Regions from separate parts of the Homo sapiens genome. Here regions 2, 3, 4, 5 and 6 are each linked to region 1. The links are contacts of gene promoters, found by promoter capture Hi-C in blood cells and fetal thymus (Javierre and others, 2016). All regions are on one chromosome and are shown on one strand. The core of a region is centred on a gene start or on the middle of the fragment in contact, and the rest is flanking DNA. Distances in the headings are between cores, read along the strand shown. Region 1 holds the start of GPR3 (G protein-coupled receptor 3). Region 2 has its middle 7.5 kb from the start of LINC02574. Region 3 has its middle 69 kb from the start of TENT5B. Region 4 holds the start of TRNP1 (TMF1 regulated nuclear protein 1). Region 5 holds the start of LOC101928391 (a long non-coding RNA gene). Region 6 has its middle 12 kb from the start of IFI6.

Region 1 (4,373 bases), core at 913-3,412:
TGGTTGTTCCCTTTTAGGTCAATCATCCAGTCCATGATTATTTCTTCAATACCCATTACATATCAGGCACTGTTCTCTAGCAGAAATGGGACATAGTCAGTATCCTCTTGGAGCTTAGATTCTAGTGGGGCTGACATGTAGTAAAACAAACAAACATGAATTCATTTATAATTTCAAGAGTGCTTCATCCTCCAAAAATGAATAAATCAAGAGAAGGGGAGGGAGAGTGATGGGGAGGCCAGTGGCGATCTGAGAGTTCAGAGCAGCCTGTTTCAGAAGTAATTCGGGAGCAGAGACCTGGATGAAGAGAAGGGTTGTTGTCAGAGGGGTCAGGTGCAAGAGCCCAGGAGGAGGAGCCCCTGAAGCCACTCCTCACTCTCTGCTCCCGCCCCTGGGTGACATTATTTACCCCTAAAACATCAGTTGCCACCTGCATGCCTACACCTCCCAGGTGTCCCTCATTATCCAGCTGTAACATTGATGGCCAATGGCAAGTAGAACCCACTCAACAACCCCATGAGGCCGGTACTAATATTATCCCTGTGTTTTAGATGAGGAAATAGGCACAGAGAGCTGAAGAAACTCTCCAAAGTCACCCAGCTAGGAAATGGAGAAACTGAGATTGGACACTTCCACCCCCTAAGCCCCCTAAACTCACCACATCCAACCTGAAATGAATCCTCTTCTCCAGCTCCGACCCCCTCCTCCTCCCATGTTCCCTGCCACTTGACCTTCTGCTGCCTCACACTCAAACCCAAAACCTGCCTGGTGGAGGCTGACCATGGGGGCTGCAGTGATGGTGCTGTGATGGGGGTGTCCAGTGGGGCCTGGGATCCTCAGGCCTCTTAACCTCATCTTCCCCTCCCACAGGCCTGCATGATTCCAGGGAGCATCAAGGCAAGAGACACAGGGAGAAGGAGCAGCCAGTCCCCCTGCCGCAGGACTGGCCACATCTGTCACATCTGGAGAAGTCTGCCCAGAGTGGTTCCCCTGGACTAAGGGCAGATGGCGTTGGGGAAGAGGGAGCTCTTTCTCCTTGCTCCACCCATCAGGATGCCTAAAATAGGAGGCTGAGAGGGGCCTGCCCTGAGGACTGAGCTGCCAGGCTTTCTGCTTCCAAGTTCTTCCCGGCTCCCCATCTCCTCCTGCTTCAGGGAAGTGCACCCCTCACCCCCTCCACGCTGGCTTTCTAGATACTGGAATAAATAATTCAGGTTTTGAAATCTTGCCAGGCCCACCCCTCCGGTGCTGTGAGGGCGCTATTGGGCTGACATGAGTGACGTCACCCAGCTCTTATCCCAGCCCCGGCATCACGGGACTTGCCCTGGCAGCAACTTACCTGCCTGGTCACTGTCAGTCCAGACCCTCTACCCTGTGCCCCTCACCCTGGAGCCCACTCACCACAGCCACCTGCTATCTTCGTTCCAGGGCCCCACAGTCCTCATGGCTTAGCATTGTCGCTTCAGTACCCCAGCCATTCTGACAGGGTAATGGTGACCTGAAGTCACCTGGACACTCCATGTTCCCAGGCCGCTGCCTCTGCCATCCCGGGGTCCCTGAACTCCCCCCTGCTGCATAGTCACCCTGACACTGCCATGGTTGCCCTGAGGGCTTCCCCTCTACCGTTAGCGTCCCACGGCCATCACCCCCCACCCCAAGATTCTGTCACCATGCTAATGTCGTCACTGCCACCCACCTCCCCGCTCCCTCGTGCTCCCTGTCATCGTCACCTCAGGGCCCCATCATCTTGGAAACCCTGTCATTCTCACCAGGGAAGCCCAACCAGCCCCATCACAAGCTCTTCCTTCGTCACCTGGATCTCGTCAGCCTCTCTGCCACCCAAGGGTCCCATCACCCCACAGCCTAGCCGGGCCCCCTTTCCACTCTTCCACCACGTTCCCTGCAGCCTCTCTGAGACTTCAAGGCTCTCGCACCGGCGCCTCTGAAACCCCCGGCCCGCAGAGGGCGCCGCGTCAAGGACAGCGCGGGCGGACTCGGGAGGGGGCGGGGCCGCAGCCACGGTCGCTTTTTATGAATGGGGGAGCGGGCGGTGCGAGGCCTTATTACTATGCCGCGCAACGCGCGCTGCGCCCCAGCGCGCCGCGCCCATTGGCTGATCGGACCGCTGACGTCACCGAACCGGTGGCCGGGGGCGGGGCGGGGTGACTCACGCCGCTTCTCCCGCGGCCGCGGGGGCTTCTCGGGGTCCACGCACGCCCTGCGCCGCCAGGACCCGAGCGGAGCCTCCCCGCGGCCCGGCCGCGCCTGGTCCTGAGCGGTGAGTAGCGGGCCCCGCCGCGGGCACCAGGGGTCCTGAAGGGCACGCAGGATGCTGGGGCACTGGGCCGGCGGAAGGCTCCTAGTGGCCGGCCGGGGTTCGAGTTCGAGGTGGGAATTCTGGGTTTAGGCGATTCTGGGTTAGCAGGCTTGGGCCCAAGTGCTCGAGTGCTGGGGTTGAGTTGGATGACCCGGCGAAGGGTAAGCATTCCTGCAGGGACCCGAGGCCCTGGAGGGACTGATGGTCATCTGAGGTTAAGCCGGCAGGAGGCGTCTGGGGCAGGGACCCAGGGGTCCGAACAGCAGGAGGTGTCCAATTTAGGAATCCAGGTATCCAGGCAGGAGGCAGAGTCAGGCCCAAAATCCAGGTGTCCGGGCAGAAGGAGGCATCTGACTCAGGGATCCAGTCTTCCAGCAGGGGGGTCTGCCCAGAGACCTAGAGATTCAGGCGGAAAGAAGGGTCCAGCCAGGAACAGAAGTCTGGGAGGGTGGGGGGTGGGGGGCTGAGTTCCCAGGTGTTACCGCGGGAGTGCGGGGTGATGGCTGGCGGGAGCTTCACGCGCATTCCCTGGGGGCGGAGTCTAAGGCTGGCAGTACTGAAAATCGTGAGGGGTCTGGGAGCCTCAGGCACGAGCTAGCATCATCATCTCTGATGGGAGGGAGCGGAGCTGCTCAGTCTCCCTGATGGGGTAGATGTTTCCCTACCCCAATCTTGAGCCTTCGGGGGCATCCCCTGGATCCTATGGCCCTCTTCCACTTATAGTACCCCTTCTTCTGTCTCTCCTCTGGTCACACACGTGGGAAAAAGAGACCTGCAGGACCTAGGACAGGGATCCCCAGGAAGAGACCCCTGTTTAGAGGCCTGGGGGCATTGGAGGGGACAGCGGTATCCTGGGAAGAGCCCCAGGGCATGAATGTGGGGATAAGGCATTGGGACCCTATCAGGTATCCTGAGGAGAGACTCCCACCACGTATCCTGAGAAGCACCTCACCCCCTCCAGACCCCAACTCCCATCACCCAGCTTGGTCAGCTTCTCACAAGGCCTTTCTCCTGCAGGTACCATGATGTGGGGTGCAGGCAGCCCTCTGGCCTGGCTCTCAGCTGGCTCAGGCAACGTGAATGTAAGCAGCGTGGGCCCAGCAGAGGGGCCCACAGGTCCAGCCGCACCACTGCCCTCGCCTAAGGCCTGGGATGTGGTGCTCTGCATCTCAGGCACCCTGGTGTCCTGCGAGAATGCGCTAGTGGTGGCCATCATCGTGGGCACTCCTGCCTTCCGTGCCCCCATGTTCCTGCTGGTGGGCAGCCTGGCCGTGGCAGACCTGCTGGCAGGCCTGGGCCTGGTCCTGCACTTTGCTGCTGTCTTCTGCATCGGCTCAGCGGAGATGAGCCTGGTGCTGGTTGGCGTGCTGGCAATGGCCTTTACCGCCAGCATCGGCAGTCTACTGGCCATCACTGTCGACCGCTACCTTTCTCTGTACAATGCCCTCACCTACTATTCAGAGACAACAGTGACACGGACCTATGTGATGCTGGCCTTAGTGTGGGGAGGTGCCCTGGGCCTGGGGCTGCTGCCTGTGCTGGCCTGGAACTGCCTGGATGGCCTGACCACATGTGGCGTGGTTTATCCACTCTCCAAGAACCATCTGGTAGTTCTGGCCATTGCCTTCTTCATGGTGTTTGGCATCATGCTGCAGCTCTACGCCCAAATCTGCCGCATCGTCTGCCGCCATGCCCAGCAGATTGCCCTTCAGCGGCACCTGCTGCCTGCCTCCCACTATGTGGCCACCCGCAAGGGCATTGCCACACTGGCCGTGGTGCTTGGAGCCTTTGCCGCCTGCTGGTTGCCCTTCACTGTCTACTGCCTGCTGGGTGATGCCCACTCTCCACCTCTCTACACCTATCTTACCTTGCTCCCTGCCACCTACAACTCCATGATCAACCCTATCATCTACGCCTTCCGCAACCAGGATGTGCAGAAAGTGCTGTGGGCTGTCTGCTGCTGCTGTTCCTCTTCCAAGATCCCCTTCCGATCCCGCTCCCCCAGTGATGTCTAGCTGAGTCTTCATGACCCTTCAACCCTGATTACTACAGAATT
Region 2 (4,493 bases), core at 629-3,128, 260 kb after region 1:
AGTTTGAGCTTCTTTTTATGTGTTTAAGAATCACTTATATTTACTTTTCTGGGAACCGTCAGTTCATATGCTAGGCCTCTATTTCTTTCTTTTTTTCTTTTTTCTTTTTTTTTGAGATGGAGTTTCGCTCTTGTTGCCCAGGCTGGAGTGCAATGGCGTGATCTCGGCTCACTGCAACCTCCGCCTCCCAGGTTCAAGCGATTCTCCTGCCTCAGCCTCCTGAGTAACTCGGATTACAGGCAGGCGCCACCATGCCCAGCTAATTTTTTTGTATTTTTAGTAGAGACGGGGTTTCTCCATGTTGGTCAGGCTGGTCTTGAACTCCCGACCTCAGGTGATCTGCCCACCTTGGCCTCCCAAATTGCTGGGATTACAGGCGTGAGCCACCGCGCCCGGCCTAGGCCTCTATTTCTATAAGATTAATCAATTTCCTGGAATTCTTTCTAAATAAGCGAGATGTTCCCTTGTCTGTGATTAGAGTTGTAAATATTTCCCCCAGATTGTCATTTGTCTTATGCGTTGATTTATAGTGTTTTTCCATGCAGAAGTTTTTGATTTTTATATAGTTGACTTTATCAATCTTTTCTTTTTACAGCTTTTTGATTTTTGAGTCATGGTTAAACTTTCTCCACTATGAGATTATACATTCTCCCATGTTTTCCTCTAGTGCCTTTACGGTTTTATTTTGATTTTTCAAACATTTAAATATTTTATCCCTTGGGAGCTCATCCTGGTGCTCAGTGTGAGGCACGGATCTAATTTTTTTTTTCCTAGTTGGCTACCTAGGTGTCCCAACACCATTTATTAAAGAGTCCATTTTCCACTTTGAGAGGACACCTTTATCAAATACTAAATTCTCGCGTGCAATTAGGTCTATTTCTGGACTTTCTATTCTAGTCCATTGGTCTGTTTGTCTCTTCCTGAACCAAACCAAGTGGTTTTAATTATTATTTTTTGTTTTGTTTTGTTTTGAGACCGAGTCTCGCTCTGTCGCCCAGGCTGGAGTGCAGTGGTTTGATCTCGGCTCACTGCAACCTCTGCCTCCTGGGTTCAAGCAATCCTCCTGCCTCAGCCTCCCAAGTGGCTAGGATTATAGGCACCCACCATCACGTCTGGCTAATTTTTATATTTTTAGTAGAGAAGGGGTTTCACCATGTTGGCCAGGCTTGTCTCGAACTCCTGACCTCAAGTGATCCACTCGCCTCGGCCTCCCAAAGTGCAGGGATTACAGGCATGAGCCAGCATGCCCAGACTTAATTATTTATTTATTCTTATTTTATTTTTTTGAGATGGAATCTCTTTTCATCGTCTAGGACGCTGGAGTGCAGTGGCATGATCTCGGCTCACTGCAACCTCTGCCTCCTGGGTTCAAGTGATTCTCCTGCCTCAACCTCCTGAGTAGCTGGGACTATAGGCGCCTGCCACCAGGCCAGGCTAATTTGGCTAATTTTTGTATTTTTTTTTTTTTTAAGATGGAGTCTCACTCTGTTGCCCAGGCTGGAGTGCAGTGGCATGATCTTGGGTCACTGCAACCTCCAACTCCCGGGTTCAAGCAGTTCTCTGCCTCCGTCTACCAAGTAGCTGGGACTATAGGCATGCACCACCACACCCAGGTAATTTTTGTATTTTTAGTAGAGACAGGGTTTCACCACATTGGCCAGGCTGGTCTCGAACTCCTGACCTCAGGTGATCCGCCTGCCTCGGCCTCCCAAAGTGCTGGGATTACAGGCGTGAGCCACCATGCCCGGCTCTTAATTTTTGTATTTTTAGTAGAGATGGGGTTTCACCATGTTGGCCAGTCTGGTCTTGAACTCCTGACCGCAAGTGATCCACTCGCCTTGGCCTCCGAAAGTGCTGGGATTACAGGCGTGAGCCACCCCATCAAGCCCCAAGTTGTTTTAATTTTTGAGGCTTTAAATATTGTTATCTAACAGTAGTCAGTGAGTGTTGCCTTTTTTTTTTTCCAGAATTTTTCTGGCATTCTTTTTCTTTCTCTCTCTTCTGTCCTTTTTTTGTTTGTTTTTGGGGGTGGGGAACCTCAGGAGACCTCATGGGATTTATGCCTTTGCAGGAAAAAGAAAATCAATAATTACATGTTATTTGGTAGTGGCTAAGAAAAAAAATAAAGCAGGTAAAAGAGCAGAAGGCAACTAAGGGGTAATATTTAGATAGGCAGCCAGGGAAGTCCCCTGGATGAGGGGGAGATACCTGAGTGAAGGATGGGAGACCACGTGGCTACCTGGGGGAAGACATGCCTGGCAGGGCCAAGGGCAAATGCAGAGGCCTGAGGCAGGAGCACGCCTGGCATGCTGAAAAACAGCAAGGCGGCCAGTGCAGCTGGAAGGGAGTGATCAGAGCAGAGAGTGGGAGGCAGTGAGGTAGATCACGCAGGGCCTTGTAGGTCACAGCAAGGACATTGGCTTTTCCTCTGACACCAGGAGCCATGGGGGGGGCGAGGGGGTTGAGCAGAAGAGTGACATGTTCTGACCTCCGTTTTAACAGGATCACTCAGGCTACTGCGTGGAGTGCAGACTGCAGGGGTGAGGGTAGCGGCAGGGAGGGCAATAGGATTTGGGATGGGTGAATAAATTGTAACTTGGTTTCCTTGTCCATTTTCCCCCATCAAACTGTGAGCTTTGCAAGGACAGGCCCTGAGCTTATTCAGCTCTATGAGCCAAGTGCCAGGCCCAGAGTAGGCGCGGATAAACACTGTGTGAGGAAGAAGGGTGGGAAGACAGAGGAGGAGACAGGAGGCAGGAGAGGCAGAGCCCCCTGGGAAATGGCTCTGCAAAGGCCACAGAAAGAAGAGGAAGCAGACATGATGACAGAGCCTGTTCCCCAGCAGGAACCAAGGCCAGGAAGGGCTGAAGCTGGGGAGCTGGGCCCCCAACCCCGGATCTGTGGCCCCCATTAACAATCAGGTTATGTGCAGTTTATGCTGGAGTTCTGCCAACAAAAGGACCCTGGCCGGGGGGGGTGGGGTGGGGATCTGTTCCTCAAGGTGAAGGTGCAAAGGTGAGGTGGCCTGGCAGAGAGGAGAGCAGCTTTCCTGAATCCTTGCACACAGAGGCCCTGAGAAAGGATAATTCACCCCCTTTATAGATGGTAAGTTGAGGCTCCATGAAAGAAACAGACCTAAGTGATACAGCAAATAGGTGGCCTGGCCTAGTTTCAGGGGCTTGGCCTCTCCAAAACACCTCCTTGGCCACTACCTAATTTGGTCGGGGTCCCCTGCAGTTTTAGGGAGTGACTAAATACAGAAGGAAGGGATGACTCCTGTTATTCAGCCAGCTCTTAGCTGCTGCCAAAGCACAGCTGGTGAGTCCTCACTGTGGGCGGGACCCAGCTTGGGGAACAAAAGCCACAGGACACTTCAGGACCTCATGAGGCTTAGGAAAGAATTGGCCTGGAAGTAGGGCAGATAGACAAGAGGCACCAAGCTGAGGGGCAGAGGAAAGAGGTCAGGCTTTGAAGTTAGGCCTGGCTTTGCCACTATCTTGCTGTGTTATCTTAGGTAACTAGCACCTCAGTTTGCGCATCTGTAAAATGGGAACGACAAGTCCTGCTTTATAGGGCTGGCATGGGGGTTGAAAGGGGCAACAGAAGTCCAGTGCTACCTGAAAGTGCTTCCTTCTTAGCTTCCCCGCTCCCAGACTGGGGACCTGCTATCCCTGTCTTCAGCAGATGCTGGTTGGCTGCTCCTGAGCAAAGGGGAAATGGGCTGCGATGGCGGCTCAAGTCCCAGGCCTACAAATGGGTACAGGCTGTGGGGGATCTGGCCAGTGCTGACACCTAGGGGCTCTTTCAGGATTAGGTGAGCTTGCACATGCCCTCAGGACAGTTGAGTAGGTCTTGGCTCTGCACCAACTACCTCAGGCAAGGTAATCACTCTCTCTGGGCCTCAGCTCCAGGGAATCTCTTCGGCAATGGTTGGGGGTGGGCAGGAATTAGAGGTCTTCTAATTGCAAACGGAGTGGGCTGCTTCAAGAGTAGTGAGCTCCCTGCCTCTGGAGGTATGTAAGCAGGGACTGGACAAGCACTGGGTAGAGATTCACTCACTCATTAATTCAATAAACTCCTACTGAGATTCCATTTTGGGCCAGGGCCTGTGGCCATCATTGTCATTAGGAGATATAGTGACAAGGCATCTTTACTCTCCTGTAACTTACATCTTTTTTTTTTTTTTTTTTTTTTTTTGAGACGGAGTTTCCCTCTTGTTGCCCAGGCTGAAGTGCAATGGCGCGATCTCGGCTCACTGCAACCTCCGTCTCCCAGGTTCAAATGATTCTCCTGCCTCAGCCTCCCAAGTAGCTGGGATTACAGGCGCCCACCACCACGACTGGCTAAGTTTTGTATTTTTTTAGTAAAGATGGGGTTTTGCCATGTTGGCCAGGCTGGTCTTGAACTCCTGACCTCAGGTGATCCACCCGCCTCGGCCTCCCAAAGTGTTGGGATTACAGGTGTGAGCCACCACACTCGGTCTCCTCTCCGCC
Region 3 (4,054 bases), core at 1,257-3,756, 310 kb before region 1:
GAGAGACTTTGACCCAGCTAAGCCATGCCAGGACTCCTAACCCACAGAAACCATCAGGTAGTAAATGTGTAAATGTGTGCCTTTTTTTTGTTTTTGTTTTTTTGAGATGGAGTCTCACTCTGTCACCCAGGCTGGAGTGTAGTGGTGTGATCTTGGCTCACTGCAACCTCCTCCTCCTAGGTTCAAGCGATTCTCCTGCCTCAGCCTCCCAAGTAGCTGGGACTACAGGCGCCCACCACCACACCTGGCTAATTTTTTGTACTTTTAGTAGAGATGGGGTTTCACCATGTTAGCCAGGATGGTCTCGATCTCCTGACCTTGTGATCCACCCACCTTGGCCTCCCAAAGTGCTGGGATTACAGGTGTGAGCCACTGTGCCTGGCTGCAAATGTGTGTTTTTAAGCAGCTGAGTTTGTGGTAATTTGTTACACAGCAATAGCTAACTAGTGCAACTAGTTATAGAACTATTCAGGTATTTTATTTCTGTTTGATTCAGTTTTGGAGAGTAATAGTTTTCCAGAAATTTGTTCATTTTGCCTATTTTTTTTTTTTTTTTGAGATGGAGTTTTGCTCTGTTGCCCAGGCTGGAGTGCAGTGGTACAATCTTGGCTCACTGCAACCTCCACCTCCCTGGTTCAAGTGATTCTCCTGCCTCAGCCTCCCCAATAGGTGGAATTACAGGTGCCCACCACCATGCCTGGCTAATTTTTGTATTTTTAGTAGAGACAGTGTTTCACCATGTTGGCCAGGCTGGTCTCAAGCTCCTGACCTCAAGTGATCCACCCGCCTCAGCCTCCCAAAGTGCTGAGATTACAGGCGTGAGCCACTGCATCTGGCCCATTTTGCCTAAATCTTTAAATATATTAGCATAAAGCTATTCATAATAACTTCTTTCTGTTTAAAAGCTTAACTATAAAATATAGCTCACAAACAGAAAGGTACATAAATTAGAAGTGCATAATGTGTAATTATAAAATAAACATCTGTGTATTCACCACCCGACTCAAGAAACGGAAATAATTCCAGCACCACAGGAATCCCCACGTGCCCCTTCTCAATCACATCCCTCCTTTCCTCTTAAGGGTAATCATCCTTGTATTTTTATGATAATCTCTGTCTGCCAGTATAGTTTTATGGTTCTTTCTAGTTTATCCATCCCTATACAATATAATTTAGATTTTTCTCTTCTTGAACTTTATGTAAATGGAATCATTCCCTGTAGATCTCTTGTGTTTGCTTCTTTTGTTCACCATTGGATTTACACCATCAATATATGTTATTGTGAAGTTCTAGTTTGTTTGTTTTCATTGCTGTTTAATATTCCATAGTATGATTATAAAAATTATCCACTTTACTGTATATATATATATATATATATTTTTTTTTTTTTTTTTTTTTTTTTTTTTGTGGAGATGGAGTCTCACTCTGTTGCCCAGGCTGGATGTGATCTTGGCTCATTGCAGCCTCAACCTCCAGGGCTCAAGTGATCCTCTTGACTTAGCCTCCCGAGTAGCCGGGACTACAGGCATGTGCCACTATGCCTGGCTAATTTTTGTATTTTTTGTAGAAACAGAGGTCTTGCCATATTGCCCAGGCTGGTCTCGAACTCCTAGGCTCAAGTGATCTGCTCACCTTGGCCTCCCAAAGTGCAGGGACCACTTTACTATTGACAGGCATTTGAATTATTTCACTTTGAGTGTACATAAACAATTCTACTCTGAACATTTGTGGACATGTTTTCTGGTACATAGTGCATACACTTCTTAGGGGATTTTTCCTGTCCTGTTTCTGAGTCTTAGGGCCTGAGTATTTATACTACTTTACTGGAAAATGCCAAACTCTCCCGGGAGGTCGTTATACTGATATACGCCAGCAGCATATGAGAGGCCGTGCTGCACCACGTCCTCGCCACTATTTGACATTGCCAGGCTTTTGAATTTTCCTAACTGGCACATGTATCATGGTATTTCATTACAGTTTTTGCATTTCCCTGCTTATTTATGGAGTGAAGCACTTTTCCATATATTTATTAGCCATTTGAATTTTCTTTTTCTGTCACATGCCTATTATATGTATTTATTTTTCTTCTCTTTTTTTTTTAAATTGAGACAGAATCTTGCTCTGTCGCCCAGGTTGGAGTGCAGTGGCATGATCTCAGCTCACTGCAGCCTTGACCTCCCAGACTCAAGCCATCCTCCCACCTCAGCCTCCTGAATAGCTTGAACTATAGGCTTATGCCATCACACCTGGCTAATCTTTGTGTATTTTGTAGAGATGGGGGTCTCACCATTTTGCCCAGGCTGGTTTTGAACTCCCGGGTTCAAGTGATCTGTAGGCCTCAGCCTCCCAAACTGTTGGGAATTACAGGTGTGCCAATTTGTCTATTTTTCTATCAGTGGATTTGTCTTTTTCTCTTTTTTTTGAGATGGAGTCTTGCTCTGTCGCCAGGCTGGAGTGCAGTGCTGTGATCTCGGCTCACTGCAACCTCCGACTCCCTGGTTCAAGTGATTCTCCTGCCTCAGCCTCCTGAGTAGCTGGGATTACAGCCTATGCGCCACCACGCCCAGCTAGTTTTCATATTTTTAGTAGAGATGAAGTTTCACCATGTTGGCCAGGCTGGTCTCGATCTCCTGACCTCGTGATCTGCCTGCCTCAGCCTCCCAAAGTGCTGGGATTTATAGGCCTGAGCCACCGCGCCCAGTTGGATTTGTCTTTTTCTTATTGATTTGTAGGAGTACTTTATATATTCTGGATAGAACTTCTTTATTAGTTTTATGAGTTCAAGTATTATTCCATGTTATGCCTCATTTTTTCATTCTCTTTATGGGGTCTCTGAATTTTAACATACTTAAAAATATCTGCCTTTTATGGTCTCTCATGGTACCTTATTCCCTTGTTTGCGTGGTTAACAGTTCACTTTTCTTTTTTTTGAGACGGAGTCTTGCTCTGTCTCCCAGGCTGGAGTACAGTGGCTTGATCCTGGCTCACTGCAGCCTCTGCCCCCCAGGTTCAAGCGATTCTCCTGCCTCAGCTTCCTGAGTAGCTGGGACTCCAGGCTCCCGCCACCACGCCCAGCTAGTTTTTGTATTTTTAGTAGAGACGGGGTTTCACCATCTTGGCCAGGCTGCTCTTGAACTCCTGACCCTGTGATCCACTCGCCTCAGCCTCCCAGAGTGCTAGGATTACAGGCGTGAGCCACTGCACCCAGCCGACCCTGTCTCTCTCTTTTTTTTTTTTTTTTTGAGACGGAGTTTTGCTCTTTTTGCCCAGGCTGCAGTGCAATGGCGCGATCTTGGCTCACCGCAACCTCCGCCTCCCAGGATCAAGCGATTCTCCTGCCTCAGCCTCCCGAGTAGCTGCGATTACAGGCATGTGCCACCATGCCCGGCTAATTTTGTATTTTTAGTAGAGACGGAGTTTCTCCATGTTGGTCAGGCTGGTCTTGAACTCCTGACTTCAGGTGATCCACCAGCCTTGGCCTCCCAAAGTGCTGGGATTACAGGCGTGAGCCACCAGGCCCAGCCCCGACCCTGTCTCTTAAAAGCCCAGTTTGCATTTTTAAAACACATAATTTATTGAAATCTTGAGGCTGAGGATGATGGTGCATTCCTTCAGAGAACATTTGCATTTGCTTCTATCAGGTACTAGGGGCATTACAAGCCCGAGGTCATTTTCAACTGAATTCACAGTTTGAAGATGTGTAGAGCATGGGAGGTGATGTGAGTTTCTTGTGCGATTCTGCATAAGGGGTAGTGTCAGGATGCAACTTCTCAGATATCTGATTGTCTTCTTCCTGCTCTTTGTGGCACCAGGGCATATTTCCTTGCAGGCCCCTGGGGGTGGGGGATTGGTTTCTTCTGGTTCACCCTTACTCTGAGAGTATGACACTTTGGGGTCTCATATCAGATTCTCCTTCTTGGTTAAGTTCTGGACTTTGTGAGACCACCCAACCTGAAGCCCCTGTATACCTGGCTAGCAAATGATCTCAGGAAAAAACAGGCTTACCTCTCATTTCACTTACGTTTGACTGGTGATTTCATTATTAGCTGGTCAT
Region 4 (4,021 bases), core at 1,223-3,722, 400 kb before region 1:
TAAAGCGCTCTACCTATCGTGGAATCAGTCCAGCTAGATCCCCGTCCCACCAGGACGGCAGTCGCCCCTCTGCGTTAACCCTTCCACTGCCCTAGTGAGGTGGGAAAGGGGGTCCTTGAGAGCCCTATGGCCCAGGAGAGACCGGGCAGAACTGATTCGGCCAAGGGCAGCATGAGGTGTGGGAGGAGCACGGCACAAGGAGTCAAGCCTCCTGCGTTCTAGCCCAGGCTCTCTTCGCACAGAGGCCTTAGGCAAGACCCTCCCCCGGATGGAGACCGGATTCCGTGAATTTCTAAACACCAGCTACCAGAGCTTATGACTCTGAGGGGCCAAACCAGGGAAGATGAGGCTCCCTTTGCACCCAAAATTTGGGGAGAGGCGAAAGGGGACCGGATGCCCTAGCGGAGCAGAATCCGGCGAAGGGCAGGACCTGAAGGGTTTGGGGAATGCCCTGAATGTGCAGAGCGCGGGGGGGGGGGGGGGGGGCGGGGCGGATTCAGGGCGTGCCTGTCTCTGATTGGCTGTGCCGCCCGTCGCTCCGCCCCGTGTTCTATAAGATGCGCGGACGGCGGGCGCGCCTCTGGGGTGGGGGCTGTGGCCGTGTCTAGCTGTTCGGGTGTGCTGTGGTCATCCTCCCTGCGCACCTACAGCCGCAGACCGCCGGTGGGGGGCGGGGGATGCCGGGCTGCCGCATCAGCGCCTGCGGCCCGGGGGCCCAGGAGGGGACGGCAGAGCAGAGGTCGCCGCCGCCGCCCTGGGATCCCATGCCGTCCTCTCAGCCCCCGCCCCCAACTCCGACCTTGACTCCTACCCCGACCCCGGGTCAGTCCCCGCCGCTGCCGGACGCAGCTGGGGCTTCAGCAGGCGCGGCCGAGGACCAGGAGCTGCAGCGCTGGCGCCAGGGCGCTAGCGGGATCGCGGGGCTCGCCGGCCCCGGAGGGGGCTCTGGCGCGGCTGCGGGGGCGGGGGGCCGCGCGCTGGAGCTGGCCGAAGCACGGCGGCGGCTGCTGGAGGTGGAGGGCCGCCGGCGCCTGGTGTCGGAGCTGGAGAGCCGCGTGCTGCAGCTGCACCGCGTTTTCTTGGCGGCCGAGCTGCGCCTGGCGCACCGCGCGGAGAGCCTGAGCCGCCTGAGCGGCGGCGTGGCGCAGGCCGAGCTCTACCTGGCGGCTCACGGGTCGCGCCTCAAGAAGGGCCCGCGCCGCGGCCGCCGCGGCCGACCCCCCGCGCTGCTGGCCTCGGCGCTGGGCCTGGGCGGCTGCGTGCCCTGGGGTGCCGGGCGACTGCGGCGCGGCCACGGCCCCGAGCCCGACTCGCCCTTCCGCCGCAGCCCGCCCCGCGGCCCCGCCTCCCCGCAGCGCTGACCTCCACGCCCGGACCCCTGGCCACCCCGACAAGCTTCGCCGAGGTGCCGACCGACCGACTGATCGCGGACGCCGGCTGGAAGGACTACGGATCCGCAGGAAGAGGCAGTTGGGGGCCAGGGGCCCAGTAGAGGAGGCTGAGGTGCGGTCTTAGCGGCTGGTGCGTTCGAGGGTCGGTCATGGCGTGTGGGGGGCTGGTCCAGGGCCCGGGAACTCCCTTCCCTGGAGCTTCTGGCGTCTGCTGGGTCCCTAGTAAAGCTGCCACTTTCTGTTGCCGCCTCTCCCGACCATCTGGAGAGTGAGAGGTGGTAGCATCAAGTCTCCATTATAAGAGTTGGACTCTTGAGGGGGCTCAGATCCCAGGAACGGGTTGGCGGCAAACTTTTACCACTTGGAACCTGCCGCACGGATGCAGCACCCCCCATCCTCACCCCCACTTGCGTGGCCTTTCCCGGGCCCCTCGGAGCTGTGAGCAGTCTTGCCCTTGAGGATGCTGCTTCCTGGCGCCGCCCAGCTCCGTGCCTTCGGGAGGACAGAATAATGAGGCCCCAGGATGGGGTGGAGGCTGGCACAGGGCTGTACCACTGAATTCCCCCTCTAGGCCTGTTTCACCTTTGGGGAGACGGAATCCCAGAGAGGTTTAGGATTTGTTCTCTTCATACTTAGGCCCTTCTTCTTCTAGGAGACAGCTTTTCTTATGCCGTCATGCAGGTTCGCAAAAATTACAGCCTGACTCACATAACCAGGACAGGATGTCTGGCACCTGCTCACCCAGGGATCCTTACATAGCAGAACCTAGAGGCTTAACTCCCAACCTGTTACTAAGATGGCTCGGCCAGGTTGGAACCAGGTGATACCCTTTAACAGGCCCCAAGGGGGCAGGTGTGGTATCAGCTTCCAGAAAGGGGGGCCTTAAAGAGCCAGATCTGAGGTGAGATCTGCTTCTCTTCCTGTCCAGATGCCCTTCAGTCTCCCATTCCTCTGTCCCCACTGTGAATGACCTGGCTACCACATTGCTGCTCACCAGCTGAGTTAATTTCACTCTCACTTATCAGTCTGCGAAGTGGATCTCTTAACCTCCCAGAGGGGCTGTGGTGACGTTAACCCAGGGCAGAGGTCCTTCTTCTTCCTCACTAAATCATGGAAAGATAATTTTTTTGTTGTTGTTGTTTGTTTTGAGACAGTGTTTCGCTCTTGTTGCCCAGGCTGAAGTGCAATGGTGCGATCTTGGCTCACTGCAACCTCCACCTCCCGGATTCAAGCGATTCTCCTGCCTCAGCCTCCCAAGTAGCTGGGATTACAGGCATGTGCCACTATGCCCATCTCATTTTGTATTTTTGGTAGAGACCGGGTTTCTCCATGTTGGTCAGGCTGTTCTTGAACTCCCGACCTCCGGTGATCTGTCCGCTTCGGCCTCCCAAAGTGTTGGGATTACAGGTGTGAGCCACTGCACCTGGCTGATAATGTATTATTTTAACTCACACCTGGAAACAGGCACTGCTTTTGCTGATAGAGCCATGAGCTAATTTAAAGTCCTACTTTTGCAGGGTGGAGAGGGGATTTCTCAAGGTCACATGCCAGTGAGGGAAGAATCAAGGTCCCTGGCCTGTGTGTGCACCTCCCACAGTACCCTGGGCAGGGGCTAGGGAGAGTTGTCCTCTGGATCCTGTCTGCTCTGTGACTTAGAACAACTCTGCCCCCTCTCTGGGCCTCTTTCCTCAGTCCCTCCTTGAGTCAGGGCTTGGGAATGGGGTGAAGTGGGGAGGATGCTTCCTTCCACAGGAATCTGGGAGGGTCAGGTGCACTGCTCTGATAGGCTGAGGCTTGGGGCCCTTATGGGATCCTCCCTCATCAGCCCTTCTCCCTGGATACCAAACTTTTTGGCTGGTTTCTCGGCTAACAGCAAGGCTTTCCTGAACCCTTTCTTAGCTGGGGAAGGGAGGTTCAGGAGGGAGTCTCAGAGCCTCTGACAAAGTTAGGGAACCCCAGGGAAGTAATGAAGGGGGCAATGCCATCCTCTGGTCTTTCCAAACAGGGAACACCTTCCAAAGCCACTTGGGTCATTTGGGGTCTAGAGGCTTAGAGAGGACAGGACATCTTGGAAAGAGCTGAGCTCAGGCCTTGGTGCTGGGCTGCAGCCAGGACCATTTGTTTTCTGGGTTGCATGGGAGGGGGCACTTGGTCCGGAGAAGCTTTTAGCTAATGGTGTAAAGTGCTCGGTGCCATCACAGTTTTGGCTTTCTCCAGGATTTATTTGTAATCAGCTTGTCCCGATTTGGGGGTGGGGTGGGTGAGTAGAGAATTAGAGACGACACTGGCTAGTGTGTGTGTGTGTGTGAAGTAGAGGGTAGTAAATGGAGATTGGTCCTGGTGTCACAGGCAGCTCTGCCCCCTCCCTCCACTTCCAGATGTCCCACTGCTCCTCATCAAGCTTCCTGGCCAGGGCACACACATGTAGACTTGAACCCCAGCTCCTAGTTAGTGCTATGTCCATTACCACATAGCCAACTAACAAAAGGCACCTCCCACACCTGCCTGACCCTCCAGGGCCCCCTCTAGAAGCTCACCCGTCTGGCTTTATTCAGGCTGGGTGCGGTGGCTCATGCCTGTAATCCCAGCACTTTGGGAGGCCCACGAGGGCCAATCACTTGATGTCAGGA
Region 5 (4,405 bases), core at 1,326-3,825, 360 kb before region 1:
GCCAATATGGTGAAACCCCGTTTCTACTAAAAATAAAAAATTAGCCGGGCGTGGTGGCACGTGCCTGTAATCCCAGCTACTCGGGAGGCTGAGGCAGGAGAATCACTTGAACCCGGGAGGCGGAGGTTGTAGTGAGCCGAGATCATACCGTTGCACTCCAGCCTGGGCAACAAGAGCGAAACTCTGCCTCAAAAAAAAAAAAAAAATAGAAACCACAAAGCCCCTTGTGTGACTTTCTTGAGTACACCCACACTCCCCTCTTGAGTGTGTGTACTTTTAAAACATTTTTAAAAATATTTTTGAGACAGGGTCTCACTCTGTAGCCCAGGCTGGGAGTGCAGTGGCACAATCACAGCTCACTGCAGCGTCAACCTCCAGGGCTCAAGCCAGCCTCCCCTGTCAGCCTCCTGAGTAGCTGGGACTACAGGCACTCGCCACCACACCCAGCTAAGTTTTGTATTTTTTGTAGAGATGTTGCCCAGGCTGGTCTTGAACTCCTAGGCTCAAGCGATCCGGGATTACAGACATAAGCCATCGTGCCCAGTCAAAGCTCCAGTTCTTCTTCTTTTTTTTTTTTCTTTTTTTTTTGAAACAGAGTTTCTCTCTTGTTGCCCAGGCTGGAGTGCAATGGCGTGATCTCGGCATACCGCAACTTCCACCTCCAGGGTTCAAGCGATTCTCCTGCCTCAGCCTCCCAAGTAGCTGGGATTACAGGCATATGCCACCACGCCTGGCTGATTTTGTATTTTTAGTAGAGATGGGGTTTCTCCATGTTGGTCAGGCTGGTCTTGAACTCCTGACCTCAGGTGATCCACCCACCTTGGCCTCCCAAAGTGCTGGGATTACCGGCGTGAGCCACCATGCCCGGCCAAAGCTCCAGTTCTTATCCCATCTTGGCCTCTTATTGGCTGGGTGACCTGGGTGCGAACCCTTCCCCTTCACTGAGCCTTGGTGTTCTCCTCTATTCATTAGGTCATCACCATCTACCTCTCAGGGCTAGCATAAAAGACCCAGTGTGTGAGCAGTGTCTGGTATGTAGTCAAGGCTGGCTTGCCCTCCTCAGAAACTGCCAATTTGCTAATTTGGTACAAGCTTCAGACAGGTGTGGATTTCGGTGGTGCGGGGATACAGGGGAGTGGAGAAGGAAGGTGGAAGAGAGAGGGACACCAGAGAAAGCAGACGAGGCCCTGAGAGAGAATCTGCAGGGCCAGAGGCTGGAGTCTGAAGACCAAGATAGGCACAGAAGCCTGAGCTGTCCCTGGCACGATGTGAGCAGGGCAGATGTTCCAATCTCCCTTCCCTCAGGTGTGGAGCGGCTCATGAAGCCCCTCCCTGTCTAGAAGCTGGTTCGGCCCATCTGATCCGACCCTGCAGGGAGGCAGGCAGAGGTGAGTGGTGAGAAAGCCCATTTCACAGGTGAAGAAACTGAGGCTCAGGAAGGTGGCGATTTGCGTCTCTATCTCATCTCGCCTGCCAGGGTAGAAGCTCCTCAGATTCAAGCGCCATTTAGTTCCTGCTTCTGTTTCCTCAGAGCCATGCTGTTGATTGAAAACAGGAGTGAGTGTTCCTCAGTGGGTTCCCAGCCCCAGCAGGCCTCACGCCCCCTTTTGTAACAAGTATCTTGCAATGCCCCTTTCCTATAATGGAATACAATTCATAGATTATGTGGTCTATTTATACACTACTAATTTTTTTTTTTTTTTGAGATGGAGTTTCACTCTTATTCACTCTTATTGTCCAGGCTGGTGTGCAATGGCGTGATCTTGGCTCACTGCAACCCCTTCCTCCCGGGTTCAAGTGATTCTCCTGCCTCAGCCTCCCAAGTAGCTAGGATTACAGGCATGTGACACCACGCCTGGCTAATTTTTTTCTTTTGTTTTGTTTTGTTTTTTTTTAAGATGGAGTCTCACTCTGTCGCCCAGGCTGGAGTGCAGTGGCGTGATCTCGGCTCACTGCAAGCTCCGCCTCCTGGGTTCACGCCATTCTCCTGCCTCAGCCTCTCGAGTAGCTAGGACTACAGACGCCCACCACCATGCCCGGCTAATTTTTTTTGTATTTTTAGTAGAGGAGACGGGTTTCACTATGTTAGCCAGGATGGTCTTGATCTCCTGATCTTGTGATCCGTCCGCCTCGGCCTCCCAAAGTGCTGGGATTACAGGCGTGAGCCACCGCGCCTGGCCGACGCCTGGCTAATTTTTGTATTTTTAGTAGAGACGGGGTTTCACCATGTTGGCTACGCTGGTCTTAAACTCCTGACCTCAGGTGCGCCTCGGCCTCCCAAAGTGCTAGGATTACAGGCGTGAGCCACTGCGCCCAGCCTATTTATTTATTTATTTTGAGACAGAGCCTCGCTCTGTTGCCCAGTCTAGAGTGTAGTGGCTCAATCAAGGGTTACTGCAACCTCTGCCTCCTGGGCTGAATCTATTCTCCCACCTCAGCCTCACCAGTAGCTGAGACTACAGGTGCACGCCACCACACCTGGCTAATTTTTTTTTTTTTTTTTTTTTTTTTGTAGAGACTGGGTCTCACAGTGTTGCCCAGGCTGGTCTTGAATTCCTGGGCTCAAGTGATCCGCCCTCCTCGGCCTCCCAAAGTGCTGGGATTACAAGCATGAGCCACCGTGCCTGGCCTTGGCCTTGTCTGTCTTTTTTTTTTTTTTTTTTTTTTTTTTTGAGACGGAGTCTTGCTCTGTCACCAGGCTGGAGTGCAGTGGCGCGATCTCGGCTCACTGCAACCTCTGCCTCCTGGGTTCAAGCGATCCTCCCTGCCTCAGCCTCCCGAGTAGCTAGGACTACAGGCGCACGCCACCAAGCCCAGCTATTTTTTTTTTTTTTTTTTTTTTTTTGGTATTTTTAGTAGAGACGGGGTTTCACCACGTTGGCCAGGGTGGTCTCCATCTCTTGGCCTCGTGATCAGCCGGCCTCGGCCTCCCGAAGTGCTGGGATTACAGTCGTGAGCCACCGCGTCTTTTTAAACCTGTAAATACTCAGGCCTACTCTTGTAGAAAAAAGGCTTCTCAAATTTGAAAGTGCCCGGGAGCCACCTGGGGCACATTCCTTGGAATGTGCAGGTTCTGAGTCAGCAAGTCTGGGGCTAGACCTGAGAGCCTGCATTTCTAACCTGCTCCCAGGTGGTGCCCAGTTGTTGCTCCTCAAGCTGGGAAAAGATGACCTTGGCTGCAGATCTGAGGGGCTGCGAAGCCCAGGGCGTCCAGTTCCCGAGGTGCCCTTCCGCCCAGAGCCGCCCTCTCCCCAGACCCCAGTGAGGGTCAGCCCTCTCCCAGGCCTGCCCTGATCGCTGCCCAGGGAAGCGCCCGCCCTGCCGCAGCCGCCCAGTCTGATTCCTGGCATCCACGTGGCAGGGCGCCCGCTGCAGCGACAGCAGTTCCCACGGGAGGAGTCGCACCGGGAATGGGCCGCGGGGGAGGGAGAGAGTGGGAGGGAGTGAGGCCCCGGGAATTGTCCTCTGAAGGGGCGGCGCATGGGCGTCCCCCGCCCTGCTAGCCCCATCTCCTTCCCTGTCCCTGCTTGGGTGAGTAAATCCCTAGTGCTTTGATTCGCTTGCCCCTCCTTCCGTCTCTCCCCACTTCCTCCTCGCTCGCTCGTTCCCTCTGCCTTCAATCTGAGCTGGGCCCTTGCAGTGAGGAGCCCACGGTTACCTGGCTGTTCCCTGCCCGCCACCTCCCTCCAGGTGGGAGGCTTATGGAGGGCTATTGCTGATCTGGGCAGGGCAGGGGCCGTGGTTCCTGGGGAGGACGGAGGAGGTCTCCCACCGTGAGAACGAGGCCAGGCTAATCTGCTCGCCCGGCGCCGCTGGAAGGCAAAACATGAGCCCCTAACAACAACAACAACTGTCCTTCCCTCCCAGGAGGACTGCACTCTGCAGTTTACAGGACACTTCTCTTGCCACTGTCATGTTTTATCCTCATAAACTCGGTGTTCTTGCCATTTGACAGATGGCAAAACTGAGGCCCAGAGAGGCCAAGTCACTAGGACAAGGTGCTAGAGCTCAGAGGACATTCCAGGACCTGAACCTGATATGCCATACATGTTTTAGGAGAAGCTTTCTGGGTCTTCTGGGCCTGGATTATCCAGGAATACCATTCCAACCCTTGAACGTGGGGCTCTAAATTTCCATCAGGATCCTTTTTTTTTTTTTGAGACAGTCTCCCTTTGTTGCCCAGGCTGGAGTTCAGTGGCGCGATCTCGGCTCACGGCAACCTCCGCCTCCCAGGTTCTAAGAGATTCTCCTGACTCAGCCTCTGGAGTAGCTGGGATAACAGGTGTGCACCACCTCGCCCGGCTGCTTTTGTATTTTTTTTTTTTTTTTTTTTTGAGAGAAGTCTCGCTGTTATCCCGCAGGTTTGAGTGCAATGGCTCTATCTCAGCTAACTGCAACCTCCGCC
Region 6 (4,241 bases), core at 623-3,122, 290 kb after region 1:
TCATTCATTAGGAAGAAGGGTGGTTTTTATTCCTGACATCATGTAACTCTCTTAGTCATTGTACAGAATAAGACAAACAAGAAAGCGAGTTAATCTATAATCTGAGAAACGGAAGTAGTAACCATATGAGACTCAGATTAAAGGAGGAGACCACCCCTCATATTGTCTAATTTCTACCTCCAAAGAGAGAAGTAAAAACTCAAAGGCAGAAATGAAATCCACAGGCAGACAGCCCAGCGCCATGCCCTGGGCCTGGTTAAAGATTGACCCCTGACCTAACAGGTTATGTTATCTATAGATTCCAGATATTGTATGGAAAAGCACTGTGAAAATCCCTGTCCTGTTCTGTTCCGATCTGATTACCAGTGCCTGCCACCCCCAGTCACATACCCCCTGCTTGCTCAATCGATCATGACCCTCTCACATGGACCTCCTAAGAGTTGTAAGCCCTTAAAAGGGACAGGAATTGCTCACTTGGGGAGCTCGGTTTTTGGAGATGTGAGTCTTGCCGAAGCTCCCAGCCGAATAAAGCCCTTCCTTCTTTAACTCAGTGTCTGAGGGGTTTTGTCCGTGGCTTGTCCTGCTACAAGATCACAGTCACATCTCTCTCAAAGCTTAAGGTGTTTGTGGGGTTCCAACAAGGTTTACATTTTATTTATTTTCACACTTCTTTGATCAACAGAGCAGCCTTCCAAACAGAATGTTGTCCATTCACCTTGGAACTGCCATCCACAAACCAAGCTGTTTGCTGGCCAGTTGAGAGCCGTTATGGGACACTGTAGAAGCCAGCAGCTCCTCACGCAAACCAGTCCTAGCAGAAAAGAGGCTCCTTTCTTTTATCTCCTCCTGGCACTCCCCAGGTAGCATGCTTCTGTATAAGCCATTTCCATTTTGTTATGGAACTCTTCTGGACACTGCTGTCTCTATTTGAGTGTTTCTGTGACATCACCTGAGATCGCATGGGTATTTCAGGTGTCAAGATCATTTTATGTCCTTCAGTCACAGGGGTAGCTTCAGTTAATGTCCCGTAACAAGTTAGTAAGTGCCCCTCAAGTGGAAATTGTCTAGTCCAAAATCTCAGTAGTCTTTGCTTGCAGGTGCTCACAGCCTTTTCTCTTCTTCTTCTTCTTTTTTTTTTTTTTCTGAGACAGAGTCTTGCTGTGTTGCTCAGGCTGGAGTGCAGTGGCACCATCTCTGCTCACTGCAACCTCTGCCTCACCTCTCGGGCTCAAGCAATTCTCCTGCCTTAGCCTCCCGAGTAGCTGGGATTACAGGCACCCACCACCACTCCTGGATAATTTTCAAATTTTTAGTGGAGATGCGGTTTCCCCATGTTGGCCAGGCTGGTTTTGAACTCCTGACCTCAGATGATCCTCTTGCCTTGTCCTCCCAAATTGCTGGGATTACAGGTATGAGCCACCATGCCCAGCCACTCATAGGCTTTTGTCATAGCCCCAGCAAATGCTCCACAAAGAGCTATCGAATGGAGAACTTGTCCCTATCAGCACTCCAGCTTCTACTCTACAGTGTGGGCTTGGGTTTCCATTTAGCATGTCCAACTAAAATTTCCAGAAGGGTGGATTTACATGCCTTCTGTTTTACAGTTCTAGGTAGAGGGAACAACCCTGTCATATACAATGCCCATTTCCATAAAACATTAGGTAAAGGAGACACAACCACTTTACATTAAGCCTTTACGTAAAGCCTGTTTAGACATTCCCACTTTCAGAATCCTGTTGACCAAGTATATTTTTATGTCCCGGGAACTTCTCTTCTCCACCCCCTCCCCAGACCATTTTATTCTCTCTTGGGCAATAAGTGTTTAGGTCCTTAGCCAGAGGCCAGGCCAGGAGACTCTGGCCTCTCTGTCAATCTTCCCTTGATTAACCAGTCTGACCATCACCCCAGGCAATTCCAGGTAGGGTTTCTTATTGTAAATCTTTACCTTCCTGCTTTTAAAATTCCACCAAACTGGAGGAAATAGAGCAAACTGGTTTGGGGCCTTTAATGTTGAAGACCATCAGAGACTCTCTTTGGTCCACCCAACCTTCAATAGTGTTGTATTAAGACATTTATTTTGGCCACGCGCAGTGGCTCATGACTGTAATCCCAGCACTTTGGGAGGCCGAGGCTGGCAGATCACCTGAAGTCAGGAGTTCAAGACTACCCTGGCCAACATGCCAAAACCCCATCTCTACTAAAAATACAAAAATTAGCCAGGCGTGGTGGCAGGTCCCTGTAATCCCAGTTACTTGGGAAGCTGAGGCAGGAGAATTGCTTGAACCCAGGAGGCAGAGGTTACAGTGAGCTGAGATCATGCCACTGCACTCCAGCCTGGGTGACAGAGCGAGACTCTGTCTCAAAAAAAAAAAAAAAAAAAAAAAAAAGACATTTGTTTTCACTGCATTAATTTCCTTTTTTAAAACCTCATTAATTTTTATTTTACTCATCCTATTTCTTAATAACCATCTAAGGATTTCCATCCTGCTCAGACGAGTCTCATGACTCTCCCCTTTCTTTTTCCTCTTAGTTTCACCCTTATCAGTGTTCTCTTCTTTCTCTCCCTCCCTCTCTCTCCTTTCTTCTTTCCTTCTCCTTCCTTCCTTCCTTCCTTCCTTCCTTTGCTTCCTTGCTTGCTGGGGGACCTGTTTATTTACAGCAGCATTTTAGGAAAAGGGCAAACATGGCTCTCTCCTTCAACAAATCCCTGCTTTGGTGCCCAAGGAGACAGGGCTGAGGTAGCCCCTGCCTGGCCCTTGGCTCTGTGGAGCCCTGCACCCTTGGGAGGACAAGGTAGCTCCCCAAAGCTGTTAATTCCAAAGCTGTTATTTGCAAGGGATAGAGGGACCTTGTTTCAACACCCAGCATGTGGGTCAATTTCTGGGGAGGCTGGAGAGGACCATGGCCAGATGGTGCCTTGACCTCCGCATGTCCAGACCCACCAATGGGATCTCCTCCCAGGGGCTCTGAAATCCTGAAAAGAAAACCAAACGCACTGAGTGAGGGTCTTATGCTTCCCTTCATAAGAGCCATGACACCGCGGCAGCCCTGGTGCAGAGGAGGGGCTGGGACTCACCCTCCCCGCCTGCCACCTGTCCTTTCTACTTTGGCAAACAACAACAAAACCCTGGAAGCTTCAAGAAAATGAAGTAAACTTTAGGGAACAGAAAAAACAAAACAGCAGGCTGTGCCCAAAGCCCTCTCTCTGCCGTCCCCCTCTCCGAGTCCTCCTGATGAGCTGCAGCTGGTGGTGCCCGCGTGGCCACAGCACAGGTTTTCCTCACAGAGCCACTGGCCCAGCTGAAGGTGACTCTCCTAAGCTCCCTTCACCAGCCACTCTGGCTTCCACGCTGGGAAGGTAGGATGGGGTGCAGTCGGGGGAGGCACCCAGTTATTTAGAGAGACAGAAGAGATTGGCACACAGGCAGCATCACCGAGGAGGCCCCACGCACATGCTCAATTCTGGCCAGTGCATGGACAGACCCCCTGCTGAGGGGACACAACAGCACAGCCCATGTAGCCCAAGGCACCTCCAGAGGTGGCAGATGAGCAAGGATGAGGACCCCAGGGTGGAAACTCCTGGATTTGGAGCTGGGCAAGTTTCTGTCCCCATGGACTGGGCAGCTTTAAGAACCAGGGGAGCTGAGGGCAGGAGGCCCAGGGAGGCTCAGCCAGCTGTCAGGAGCAGCCCAGACCCCACCCCTAGAATGACAGAGGAGGAAGAGGGGGAGGGTCATCATCTGTAAATGCCACCAAGACAGTGTTGGGTGGCACCTGACGTTCCCCAGCACACACGAGCCACTGGTGCCTCTTCAGGCTGTGTCCGTTCACATGGTGGGACCTCCTGCCCATTGGTGGTAGGGGCAGGGTGCGTGGAGAGGCCTTCTCCAGGAGCTGCCTGGAAAACAGGGCAGCCCTGACCCCCACTGGCTGACAGTGAGCAGCATGTCTCCTATCACGGAGTCTGAAGGTCCCCGCAGTGTTGAGCAAAAGTTTACATGGCACCCACTGGCCAGACCCCATCGACTCCACAGAGAGCAAAAGAGAGCCTGCTGACCTCCCAGCTGTTGGCCCCAGAGTCACAGAAGTCACCCCTACTCAACACCAGGACACAGATCCACCGCCCAACCTAAGAAAACAGGAACAACTCCAGGGCCACCTAGGCCAGGCAGGTGAGAGGAGCTGGGCGACAGTAGCTGCCAGCTGCAGCTCTGCAGGATCAACAAAAAGGCAAGATGCCG

The links. Contacts are between HindIII fragments. The CHiCAGO score rates a contact against its expected background, and 5 or more counts as called.
Region 2: a fragment that was not itself captured here is called in contact with the fragment with the promoter of GPR3 in region 1 in 10 of 17 cell types (erythroblasts, naive B cells, naive CD8 T cells and 7 more); the score reaches 8.2 in erythroblasts.
Region 3: a fragment that was not itself captured here is called in contact with the fragment with the promoter of GPR3 in region 1 in 1 of 17 cell types (M2 macrophages); the score reaches 6.9 in M2 macrophages.
Region 4: a contact is called between a fragment that was not itself captured here and the fragment with the promoter of GPR3 in region 1, in 1 of 17 cell types (erythroblasts). The highest score is 5.2, in erythroblasts.
Region 5: a contact is called between a fragment that was not itself captured here and the fragment with the promoter of GPR3 in region 1, in 1 of 17 cell types (M0 macrophages). The highest score is 6.3, in M0 macrophages.
Region 6: a fragment that was not itself captured here is called in contact with the fragment with the promoter of GPR3 in region 1 in 2 of 17 cell types (naive B cells and total B cells); the score reaches 6.5 in naive B cells.

The regions. Positions count from the first base shown.
Region 1 is chr1:27,390,460-27,394,832 of GRCh38, forward strand. GPR3 (G protein-coupled receptor 3) reads left to right here and starts at 2,163. Exons shown (of 2, transcript NM_005281.4): 1 at 2,163-2,278; 2 at 3,335-4,373. The coding sequence starts at 3,340. The coding sequence ends at 4,332. RefSeq lists enhancers at 779-1,315, 1,316-1,852, 2,390-2,925, 3,754-4,373 and a silencer at 1,867-2,366. The HindIII fragment of the contact is 9,449 bases long and covers 1-4,373 here.
Region 2 is chr1:27,652,983-27,657,475 of GRCh38, forward strand. No RefSeq gene overlaps it. Among named protein-coding and RNA genes, the nearest start is that of LINC02574, 7.5 kb to the right of the region's middle. RefSeq lists a silencer at 1,529-1,931. The HindIII fragment of the contact is 5,418 bases long and covers 1-4,493 here.
Region 3 is chr1:27,079,727-27,083,780 of GRCh38, forward strand. No RefSeq gene overlaps it. Among named protein-coding and RNA genes, the nearest start is that of TENT5B, 69 kb to the left of the region's middle. The HindIII fragment of the contact is 3,206 bases long and covers 904-4,054 here.
Region 4 is chr1:26,993,110-26,997,130 of GRCh38, forward strand. It overlaps TRNP1 (TMF1 regulated nuclear protein 1), which reads left to right and starts at 583. Exons shown (of 2, transcript NM_001013642.3): 1 at 583-1,503. The coding sequence starts at 678. The coding sequence ends at 1,361. RefSeq lists enhancers at 1-442, 196-355, 580-1,080 and silencers at 496-825, 856-915. The HindIII fragment of the contact is 2,158 bases long and covers 1,394-3,551 here.
Region 5 is chr1:27,028,299-27,032,703 of GRCh38, forward strand. LOC101928391 (a long non-coding RNA gene) reads left to right here and starts at 3,460. Exons shown (of 8, transcript XR_007065559.1): 1 at 3,460-3,531. The HindIII fragment of the contact is 2,970 bases long and covers 1,091-4,060 here.
Region 6 is chr1:27,682,497-27,686,737 of GRCh38, forward strand. No RefSeq gene overlaps it. Among named protein-coding and RNA genes, the nearest start is that of IFI6, 12 kb to the left of the region's middle. RefSeq lists an enhancer at 1-256. The HindIII fragment of the contact is 2,520 bases long and covers 613-3,132 here.